Linked DNA regions of Homo sapiens: region 2 is linked to region 1. Evidence: promoter capture Hi-C in human tissues and cell types (Jung and others, 2019). All regions are on one chromosome and are shown on one strand. Each heading gives the region's core, a stretch centred on a gene start or on the middle of the fragment in contact. The rest is flanking DNA. Distances are from core to core; before and after follow the strand shown.

What was found. The method cuts DNA at HindIII sites, captures the fragments that hold promoters and counts their contacts. A contact is called where the count stands out against the background at its distance.
Region 2: a contact is called between a fragment that was not itself captured here and the fragment with the promoter of CPT2 in region 1, in 1 of the 25 tissues and cell types used here (hippocampus).

The regions. Positions count from the first base shown.
Region 1 is chr1:53,195,020-53,200,643 of GRCh38, reverse strand. It overlaps CPT2 (carnitine palmitoyltransferase 2), which reads right to left and starts at 3,820. Exons shown (of 5, transcript NM_000098.3): 1 at 3,549-3,820. The coding sequence starts at 3,700. RefSeq lists a silencer at 3,477-3,836. The HindIII fragment of the contact is 8,890 bases long and covers 1-5,624 here.
Region 2 is chr1:53,055,140-53,060,607 of GRCh38, reverse strand. No RefSeq gene overlaps it. Among named protein-coding and RNA genes, the nearest start is that of PODN, 4.3 kb to the left of the region's middle. The HindIII fragment of the contact is 3,998 bases long and covers 1,293-5,290 here.

The DNA of each region.
Region 1 (5,624 bases), core at 2,571-5,070:
GATTACTAGATCATTAATTTCCTCCCCCAAAACCAATAATCAGAAGCGACTGACAAATCAGAATCAATGGGTTTACTAATGCCAAGTATATCAATGGTAACTCTACTTTTAAGTAAAATAACAACTAAATCTTTAAGTAAAATACAAATATAATTATTTTAAATAACAATAATAGATTCAAAATGGGGAAGCAGAAGCTGCCCCAAGAATTCCTGTTTTCTGGTCACAATGATAACACCTGTGCTAACACTGTATTGGCCCTGATTTAATTCTACCCTTAGTTTGAACAACTGCATTTTTCTCCCCTAGGATAAAATGAAAAGGTTCTATTTTTTAAATTTTCTTCTGCATTTTACAACAAATAATTATATAAGAGTGAAACACAGATCTGTCCAAGGGCCAGCCATATATGGGGGCTACAGTCACTAAAAGGTAGGAATCGACCAGTGAGCCATGCCCAGATACCAGGAACGCCATTAGGAAGAACCAAATAGTCCCTGTGCTTAAATAACAGGAACAGCAATTTGCCTACTTATCATTCTGTCTACTAGTGATTCCCAAAGATGGCTATGGTGATGAAGTTACTGGCTTATTGTGAAATGAAAACACATGGACAGTAAAGTGAGGTGTATTTTCTCTTTCAATTCATTGGTTTTATTGAAGGAAATATCCCCTAATAGCAAAACAATCAGAGTTTGTTAGGCTGCCTCTACCAACTCAAAATTAACACTGATATGCAAAATACTGAAATGTATCAGTCATTTAGGAAAACTGAAACATGATACATAAAGCAGTTTAAAAGCCTAATATAAGATATACTGTGGTTCATCAGTTTATTTGTAATGCATGTTTATCCATAATATGACAAAAATAAATCAATTATTTACTGCCATTATGGACTTAGACTGCACTAAGTACCCATTTACAACACTTTAACACCACAGATCCCCTTACATTCACTGACTTACTCAGAAAAATTCCAAATACTATCTCAGCTACCTCATAATTCCAGTTGCCTACATATGTTTAAGATTTAGTTTTATTACAGTAGGAATATTCATGAAAGTTTACCTTCTTCCTTTTAAACAAAATTCTAGATTAGAGACAATGGCAATTTGATTTAAAAAAGTCCTACTTAAAAATTTCTGGAGTGAAGCTGGGCACGGTGGTTCACACCTGTAATCCCAGCACTTTGGGAGGCCGAGGCAGGCAGATTGCTCGAGTCCAGGAGTTCAAGACCAGCCTGGGCAACATGGCGAAACCCTGTCTCTATAAAAGATACAAAAAATCAGCCAGGCATGATGGTGCATGCCTGTGGTCCCAGATGGGAGGCCAAGAGCAGATCACTTGAGGTCAGGAGATTGAGACCAGCCTGGCCAACATGGTGAAACTCCATCTCTACTAAAAATACAAAAATTAGCTGGGTGTGGTGGCACATGCTTGTAATCCCAGCTACTTGGGAGGCTGAGGCGGGAGGATCCTTTGAACCCGGGAGGCAGAAGTTGCAGTGAGCCGAGATAGGGCCACTGCACTCCAGCCTGGGCAACAGAGCGAGACTGTCTCAAAAAAACCAAAATAAAACTGTGGCTCAATGAAGTGAACAGAATTGCCCCAAATTATAGCTAAAGACTTGCAGATCCAGAATCTGCAACTACATTCTACCAGACCTCAAAGTCAGGGCTTTTCACCAAGTGTGACATCAATGAGTGAGTGTGAAAGATTATACATTTTACCAGTCTAGAATCTGAGCGACAGAAGGAATCTCATCTCTCATCTAACTCCCAATTTACAAATAAGGTAATGGAGGTCTGGGGGAGGTTGGTTGCTTAAGGTTATGCGTAGGTGACTAGTGGTACTATTTGAACTGGAGTTTGAATTGGTACCTCCAGATTCCTACAGACTGTGCTATGGATGGGGTTGGAATAAATAATCTTGAATATTCTTTCCAGCTTTCCAATTCTAAAGTGCAGAAAATCCCTCTGATCTTAAACCTGGGTGGGGCCCAGGCCTGCCTGAAAGTCAGTGACCATCTGACTCTGAACTTGGCAAGTGAAGACAGGTTCTGTCAGTCCTCACCTTTCACCCATATACTGGCTCAGCTCATACACACAGGTTGACAGGGTGGAAGCATGTACCAGGCTTATGCCACAGGCACAAAGCCCCTTTTTCTTCCTCCCTCCTGCCACGTGTAGATAATCTCATTTTCATGTCTTAGATGTTTGCACAAAATGTAATTTCACAAGAATCACTCGATCCTCCTGAGAGGGTGAGGGTATGTAGTGATGACGTTGGGTTAAGTGGTCCCAGATGCAGAGAAAAACAACCCAGCAGCTCGGGTGAGGCCTGTGACACAATGTTCCACACATGGGGAAGAAGCCTGGCCTCTAGCTCTTGGAGTGTGGGGAATCCCTGAGGGCAGTTTGGTGAGAAATAAGGTGAGAAGGGTCTTTGAGACAAATTTTGAACTTGGCTCCAGGAACTGAGTTACTCACTCAGTAAGTTAGAAGTTAGTTTAGGTTTGGTTTAGAGGGTGAAGAAAATTTCTAATATTGAAGAAGGAGATCTGGCAACTCAGACGAAAGCGGAGTTCGAAGGCTGGAAGAACTGGAAGCTGGATTTAAGAAAGTACTGGGGGAGGGAAGGGGAAGAGGATTTACTAGGGCTCTTTTCAGAGGGGAAGTCGATTCTGGGTGAAGTGTTTCGAAGGCAGGGTAGCCAGTGGTGAGGAGGAGAAGAGAAATTTGGGTGGACCCTGGATCTGAGTATGATGGAGTGTGGATGGGGTACTGAGGGTGGTGTCTAGAATTCTGTGAGGGTGAGCTGCACTTACAAGGGGTACTGTGGGTGAGGAAGGATATTTTGAGGGGAGGAACCTGTTGAGGAGGGCTTGGAGAGAGTGAAAGGTTTCCGGGTGAACACTGGATTTAGGAGATTAAAGATTTAAAAACATGGGGGAGGGTCAGTTGAGGACAAGGGTGAACACTTCAGGGCTGTGCTTGTGGGGGCTCATGGGGGGTGAAAGAACAGAGTACTGGAGAAATGGGAGGTGGGGCTGAGGGTCCTGAGTGACAGGGGTGAAGGCGGTGCTGGGAGAAGTTAAGGAATGGTAACCATGATGTATTAGGAATCAGCCTACCCATATTCCGGGTAGGAATGTGAGGCAGTCATTAAAGTACTTCAGGAGACACCATAGTCGAGGGATTACAGCGGCGCTGGAAATATGCAGGTCTGGCATTTTTCAGGGAGAAGAGGACTCAGGATAGCTGGCTGGAAGTTAGGTTAAAGGAGAGGGAATCTGAGAAGCGTTCAAGATGGAGAATCTGAGATAGCATCGAGGGGTTCTGGAAGAGAATTTGAGGGTTCTGAGGTTCCTGTGCTAGGAGATTGTGAAAAGTCCCAAGACTTCCAGATTAGGGGCTGTGGCAGCCTCCATGGTAGGGGCTTGGGGGCGGAAACGGGTTCACTAGAGGAGTCATGAGTGACTGCAGTCAGGTTGGGGCCGATCCTGGGACGGCGGCGGGCGGCGGGGACCCGGAGGCCAGGCTCACCTGGGCAGGCTGTCCTGGTAGTGCATGGTGGGCACGATGCTGCGCTGCAGGTACTGGCCGGGCCCGGAGCCGGCGCTGAGGGGCCGACTGGGGGCTCCCGGACCAACCGCGGGGCCCCGGGGCCAGGCGCGCAGCAGCAGGCGGGGCACCATCGTCCCGGGAGCCTGCGGCGGCGAGAACGCGGCAAGTGGGGAGTTCTGGAGTCTAAACACAAGGCCGCCGCCGCCGTTAGCGCCCAAGACACTGCGTCAGGACTCCTGAGGCACTTCTCCGCCCGCAGGCCACTTCCGGCCCCTGTAAGGCCATCGGCTCCGCCCCGGACTGGCTCCTTCCGGGCAGGGGCCGCTCACTGACAGGCCCCGCCCACTAGTAGGCCCCGCCCGGAAGGGGGCCCCAGCCTCCGCGCTGCTCGTCTCCCTTCCCTTCCCTAGGAGGCGGGAAACCGAGCGCCGCAGCCGCTCCTTCCCCTTTTTTGGAGCAAGACAGAAACTGGAGTTGGAAAAAAAAAAGAAAAGCTAAGAAACGTGATTGGAATCTGATAACCCAAAATTTGATCCAGGCTCCATCCTTGCGAGACTGTGGACTAAATTTTAAACCTCTATTTCCTCACCTAAGAAGTAGATAGATCGTAATGATTCAAAGTACCTCCCAAAATTCTAGATATGAGATAAAGATAACATGTTATGCACAGTGCATGGTGCTTAATAGGAAAGCAGTAAACGGTAACGGATGTTACTGTTGTTAGTAATCCGTGCTGAAGGTCATTGACATATAATGACCCTGAACCCTGCACAGCTACTGCCCTGCCAGCTCACCTGAGTGGATGGATATTAGAAAGGATTTGTGCAGGAGTTGGAAACCTGGAGTTTCCCGCTGGCCACCACTTCAGTGCAGAAAGCCCCTTCCGAGCGGAATCCCCTCTGCCTGAACATCCATTCTTGGCTTGAGCATTTCCAAAAACAAGAAGCTCACTGCTAAGAGGAAAGAAACCCTTGTCCTCCGGCTCTAGGAAGTCTTCCGTGTTCAGTCTATTGGAAGAGGCTTCCTGTCACCACAGACCACCTCCAAGATTCCTTCCAACTCCTGACTCTAAGATTCCGCTACTTGAACATAGATCTATCATCCCTCATCCATCACAAAACAGCTGCAGAACAGCCCACCACGCCCCAATCCCTGATCTTAGAAGTAGCTGCAGGATTAAGTAGGCTCTACTCCCATTTTACAGAAGAAGACAGGGAGTTACCAAAAGACACACAATTATGCTGCCTAGCTTGAGGCACAACAGAATTCCATTTTGGGAACAGAACTGCCCTTTAGCCGTTTGGGGCAGCCAAGTACATTCTGTCTGTTCCATAATTGGCTAAGCAGAGCCAGAAGCTGGAGCACACCAGAAAGAGTACTGGATTGGGAGTCAGGAGACCGGACTTTTAGTTTCAGCTCTTTGTTATCTAGTTAGGTGACCTCGGATTGAACAGGAAGATCACTAACCAGCTCTGGCACTCATTCAGTGGTGATCACAAATGCTTAACCCATTTCCCGTTTAGAAAAAAACAGCGCAGCTTGCTGCCAGCTCTTATTTCTTAGGGCAAATGGGAAATGGCTTAAGAACTAAGCATGAAATTCAGAAACACTGAATATCGAATCCTCCTCTCTTGAGGGGAGAAAAGGCCCAACTGGCCCAACTCCAAAACATCGGTGCCATTTGCCTGTAGTGTATAAGGCCAGAGGGAGAATATAAAACTCTTTCTGAAAATGAGCCATCTCCTCTAAATCCTGATCATTTTCAGAGCCTTGATACCCGAGGCAAATATCGAGATCTGTGTAGTGCTAAGGGGATCAGAGGACCAGGAAGAAATAGTGGGCCCAGTAGAAAAGCAGCGGCTCTATTCTAGAGACAGAGGGCCAAAAGATTGAGCCCATCCAATCTAACAGCCAAAAGAGGGACGTGAACACCTTTGGTGAGTGCATGGCCAATGGGAGCAACTCTAAGCCTTTAGGCTGGTGTCCAAGGCCTTCTGAATTCTGACCCCTACCTACTTCTCCAGCTCCCATCATGTCACCCCAAAATACTCTATG
Region 2 (5,468 bases), core at 2,042-4,541, 140 kb after region 1:
TCCTAAATCCTTAAAATATCTTAATCATCCTAGCCCTGTGGGGAAGATATTCTCTATACTTATAACTGCTAAGGCCAAGGTGTTTCAGGGGCCCGCTACACGGCACACCACACACCCAGTACCCACCACCTCCCAGAGAAATAGGCTTTTCTATGGAATGCTGAGCAAATGCCCATGTGTGCTTTGTGGTTGGCTGCTACTATAGATACAAGCTGCAGGAGGAATCACTTTGAGTGTCTCTGGTGGAAAAATGGAGGCAACCTTGGTGCTCTAGAAGCAAATCCTCTTTCAGAAGGATTGTAAAGGCAGAGTTTGAAATTGAGGTTTCCTGAATCTACTTGTGCTGCTTCAATTCCTTCATGCTGCCCCTCAATTTCAGCTCCTGTTTGATATTACTGAAGTACATAGTGTCAAGTACAAGCTTTAAGCTTGGAGCTGGGTTCAAATCCTAGCTAGGTTCAAATGAATATAAAAATAGTACCTACACTTCACAGTATGTCTAAATTGGAGAATGCAAGTACAGAACTTTACATAGTACCTGTCACATGGTAAGTGCTCAGTAAATGGTAGCTATTACTGCAAAACTATCACCCAGACCTGACCAAATAGCCAGGAAACATTATTAAAATAGAAATGACAAGTGGCAAGAATTAAACAGTAACCTCTGTACTGCCCAGGGAAAGTGCCTTCTAATTCAAAACAATAAGAAACAAGAACACTCCAAAGAGGAGGGAGGAAAGACATACATTGATACGGTAGAGAGAGCTAGGAGTAAAGAACAAGAAGGCTCTCAGTGGGGTTTGATGATGAGAAACAGGAGATGAGGAACAATGAGCTCTTGTTATGCCTCATCATCAAAGAAGAAAATAATTCCTCCTACTTTGAGCTGAGGGCTGAGATCTTATTAAGCAGTAGAGTCCCAAATAGCTATGGCAGCAGCTTGATTTTCTGGACATTTAAGGAATCAAATCACATGGTGGTGTTTGGGGTATATGAATTCCATCTGAAGGACCTTGATGAAGGCAAGACTCTCCAGGGAACAAGAAGAGAATAATGAAAAATCTTCAGTCCAAGTCAAGTACACAAGGAGTCTCCTGGGCTGCTATAACATCTCATACAGACTCTTTATTATTGGAACTTTCTTGCTGTTTTTCCTCTTTCTCCCACTGGATTGTGAGTCCTCCAGGGCAAGAATCTCATGTTCTGCAAGCTCTCCTCTCTCACCCTAAAATACCACTGTGATAGGCAGAATACCCCCCAACCCCGCCCCAAAGATATCCACACCTTAATCCCTAAAACCTTTGGATATGTTACATGATGAAAGTGACTTTGCAGATGTAACTAAGGTTACGGACTTCAAAATAGGGAGCATATTCTGGATTACCCTGGTGGGCCTAATCACATGAGCCCTAAAAAACAGAGAACTTTCTCTAGCTGGAGAGAGAGAAGATGAAGCAGAAGAGGAGGTCAGAGAGATTTGAAACATCAGAAGGACTTGACTAGCTTTAAAGATGAAGAGGGTCATAAGCTAGGGAATAAGGCAGCCTCTAGAAAGTGAAACACCCGTAGGCTGCCAGGAATGGTACAGGGACTTCAGTCCTACAGCGGCATGAAACAGAATTCTGCCAGCATCTGAATGAATGTGGGAGCAGAGCCACCTTCTCCCCTGGAGCCTCTAGATAGGAGCCCAGGGCAGCAATACTTTGACTTCAGCCTTGTGAGACCCAGAGCAAAGAAACCAGTCAAACTCAACCAGACTTCTAGGCTACAGAACCGTTAGATAATAAATTTATGATCACTACTTTGTGATCATTTGTTTCATCAACAATAGAAAATAAAACAAACATGAATAACTAAAACTGGTACACACTTTCCCACACACTGTTTCACTTGATCTTCACAGCAAACATGATGGTATTATTGCCCCATTATTTTGGAAAAGGGGTGCTCAGGGAGGATATGCAACTTGCTCAGGTGACCCAGCTAATGAGTGCTTGAGTCAGAATTCAAACTCAGTCTTCAGGTTCCAACTCCAGTGAGAGTTGTCTCCCACACTGTAGCCAGCCAACTAGCTGTTACCTTAAGCTAAATAAAAATGGATGAAAAAAAGACAAAAAACAAATTCAGACTACTTTCATACTACAAAAACTTGAAGCTTTTGAATTCTCATTTCTTTTGAAGACTGTTTCTTCCAAAGGTATGTCATGTTTCTTCCAAATTAAGTTATGAACCAGTCAGGGTATAAACAAGTAAGCAAAAAGATCTCAAGTCTTCTTTCTAGCATATAGAAGAAAAAAAGATTTTGGTAACTGCAAACGGAGAAACCCTCAAGAGCGGCTGTCAATGAAATACCACTTTCTCCTGTTCAGATGATCTTTCAGCCACTATTAAGGTACATCTCCCACAATGAAATGCCCTGTTTTTGCCTTGTGGGTCTAGAAGCATCTCTGTGGTTGGAGCTTCTAGTCCACTCATGACCGATTTTTATTGTCTGGAAATTCAATGGTATTCAGTCTGAAATTTCTCTTTCTATATTCCTTCCCCTTACTTCTAATAACTAAGCAAAATAATTCCTCTCCCTCTTTGGTCTTTCCATCTCTCGAATATTCGTGAACTGATATCACACCCTGCGTTTGGGTATCATTTTGCCAAGCTTAAGTCTTCTTTCAGCCTGCCTAGTCAATTGTTCCTATACTACTGTGTCTTCGTGTCAAGTTATTTTCTATTTCTGTTCTAATAAAGTGTCTAATCTTGAACAGAGTGCTCTGTACACAACAGAAGGTGCCATATTCTAAAAGGTGAATCACACAACAACTTCCAGAGAGAGAAAAAAAATCACTGTTTGGTAGTTGGTTAGACAACTATCTGCAATTTAAATAAACAGCAGACTACAATTTCCCCCAGTTCTACATAAAAGTTTATGGCCATAAATTCAGAAACAAAAAGGTCAAGCACTTACTACATGCTGCTGGAAACAGTACTGTGAATATTTACAAAGTGTTTAAATGACCATTAATAGAATAGATAGACCAAATGCACATGACTTTTTGCAATAAGCTTTCATTACATTTTTAAAAAATTATTTCCCCTAGAAGTCTGGCTAAAATTCCATACCAAACTAAACTTCCAGCCAAATGGAACAGACTCCACATTTCTTAGGGGCCAGAAATCTGGCCCAATATTCTTTGTTCTTACCAAGAACTAAAGAGCTGTTTGTTCGCAGCAGTCTCCAGATAGATATAATACGAGACTGTTCCAGAAGATTTTGTAACTCTCTATTGAGAAAAACTCTAAAATTTGGCCAGATATGGCTGTGGTTCCTAATAGCTCATAAATCTTTCAGGCCCCTCATTAGCTGTTTAGTACCATACTCAACATTCCTAATTCATATCAGTGTGGTTTCTAAACAAGCTTACTCCCACAGAGTAATTTGCCCAGAGGTACCATCTGGCTGATTACCATTTTTTTTCCTAGTCAATAACATCAAGTGACTTCTTTCTGTTCAAAAAGTAATCATGGCATGGGCAGCTAGAATTAAATCTTCGGCTAAAATGCAAACCTTCTGAAAGTCAAACTAAATAATTCTATATCCATTCACTTAAGTATAGAGACCATTAAATTTTAATGGTTCTTGAGGAAAACATAAGGATGTAAACAGTTAATAAAAGCAAATTGTCCTCATTCTGAAGCCAGCTGATTATGTGAACTCAAATGATTATCATGGGCCAGGCATGGTGGCTCACGCCTGTAATCCCAGCACTTTGGGGAGGCAGAAGGTGGGAGGATCACAAGGTCAGGAAATCGAGAACATCCTGGCCAACATGGTGAAACCCCATCTCTACTAAAAAAATACAAAAAATTAGCTGAGTGTGGTGGTGCACGCCTGTAGTCCCAGCTACTTGGGAGGCTGAGGCAGGGGAATTGCTTGAACCAGGGAGGCGGAGGTTGCAGTGAGCAGTGATTGCACCACTGCACTCCAGCCTGGGTGACAGAGCAAGACTCTGTCTCAAAAAAAAAAAAGATTATCACAAAATGTTCCAATGAATAAATTTCATGTTAAAAAATTCCTTAAATAACATTTTGCAGCATCTACTCAGTACCTACTATGTGCTTGACATATTACAACTGCAATTGCTCATCTTCCTAACAACCAGGAAGGCAGACATTATGAGTCCCTTTTCACAGAGGGAGAAAGTCTCAGAGTCTTTCCTTGTTATTAGCTCAAGGTGGTCCCAAAGTTGTGTAAGTGCCAAAGGTAGAAACAAAACTCACATCTGATGGGCCCCAAAGTTTTCCCATTATACCAGGCTGTTCTAAATGTACTATTTTCTTTCTTTCTTTCTTTTCAGACAGCATCTTGCTCTGTTGCCCAAGTTGGAGTGCAGTGGCATGATCTCGGCTCACTGCAACCTCCACCTTCCGGGTACAAGTGATTCTCCTGCCTCAGCCTCCCAAGTAGCTGGGACTACAGGCACGTGCCACCACACCTGGCGAATTTTTTGTATTTTTAGTAGAGACGGGGTTTCACGATGTTAGCCAGGATGCACTCGATCTCCTGACCTCAGGTGATCCGCCCGCCTCAGCCTCCCAAAGTGCTGGGATTACAGGTGTGAGCCACTGTGCCCAGCCAAATGTACTGTTTTCTGAGACTGCTAAAGTTTCAGAAGATAAAGCTGTTAATTGTAGGATTTAATTTCATTTTTTTTCTAAGATGACATATGTGGGGAAAACAGAGGGAACTTATATTTATATGTGATTGACCCTTTCACAAAGTATTTTACAATTTAAAAATACCATTAATGATCATTGTCTAACCCTTATTTGTCCGAGAAACAGTTATTGATGCTGCTCTGGTGGACACTGCATTAATACTAGAGACACAGAGATGAGTAACAGAGTTACTGCATTCAAGATGTATACAGTCTAATGAGACTGACTGTAAAAAAAAAAAAAAATTCAACAGTGTCCCTCCTTTGCAGAGGCAGAAACTAAAACTAAATGCTGGTGAGGCTTAAATGCCTTACCCTAACTTAGCTTCCAGGAGGCAGAGACAGGACTTTTTGACCTGAAATTCCTCAGTGACTCCTTTGTCATACCCCCACCTCTACATGGACTTGACATGCTAGCAATGCTTTCCATTATTTTTCCTCTACACATCCAACAAAAATTGTAGAAATCCGAGAGTGTGAATTCATCTGAAAAAGTACAGCAACAAGACTAATGATTTTAATGCAGAAAGAACCCACCAGGCAACTTTTTATTTATTTATTTATTTAAGACAGGGTCTCACTCTGTCGCCCAGGCTGGAGTGCAGTGGCAGTGATCTCCTGGCTCAAGAGATTCTCATGCCTCAGCCTCCCGAGTAGCTGGGATTACAGGCGTGCGCCACCACACCCGGTTAATTTTTAAATTTTTAGTAAAGATGGGGTTTCACCATGTTGGCCAGGCTGGTCTTGAACTCTTGGCCT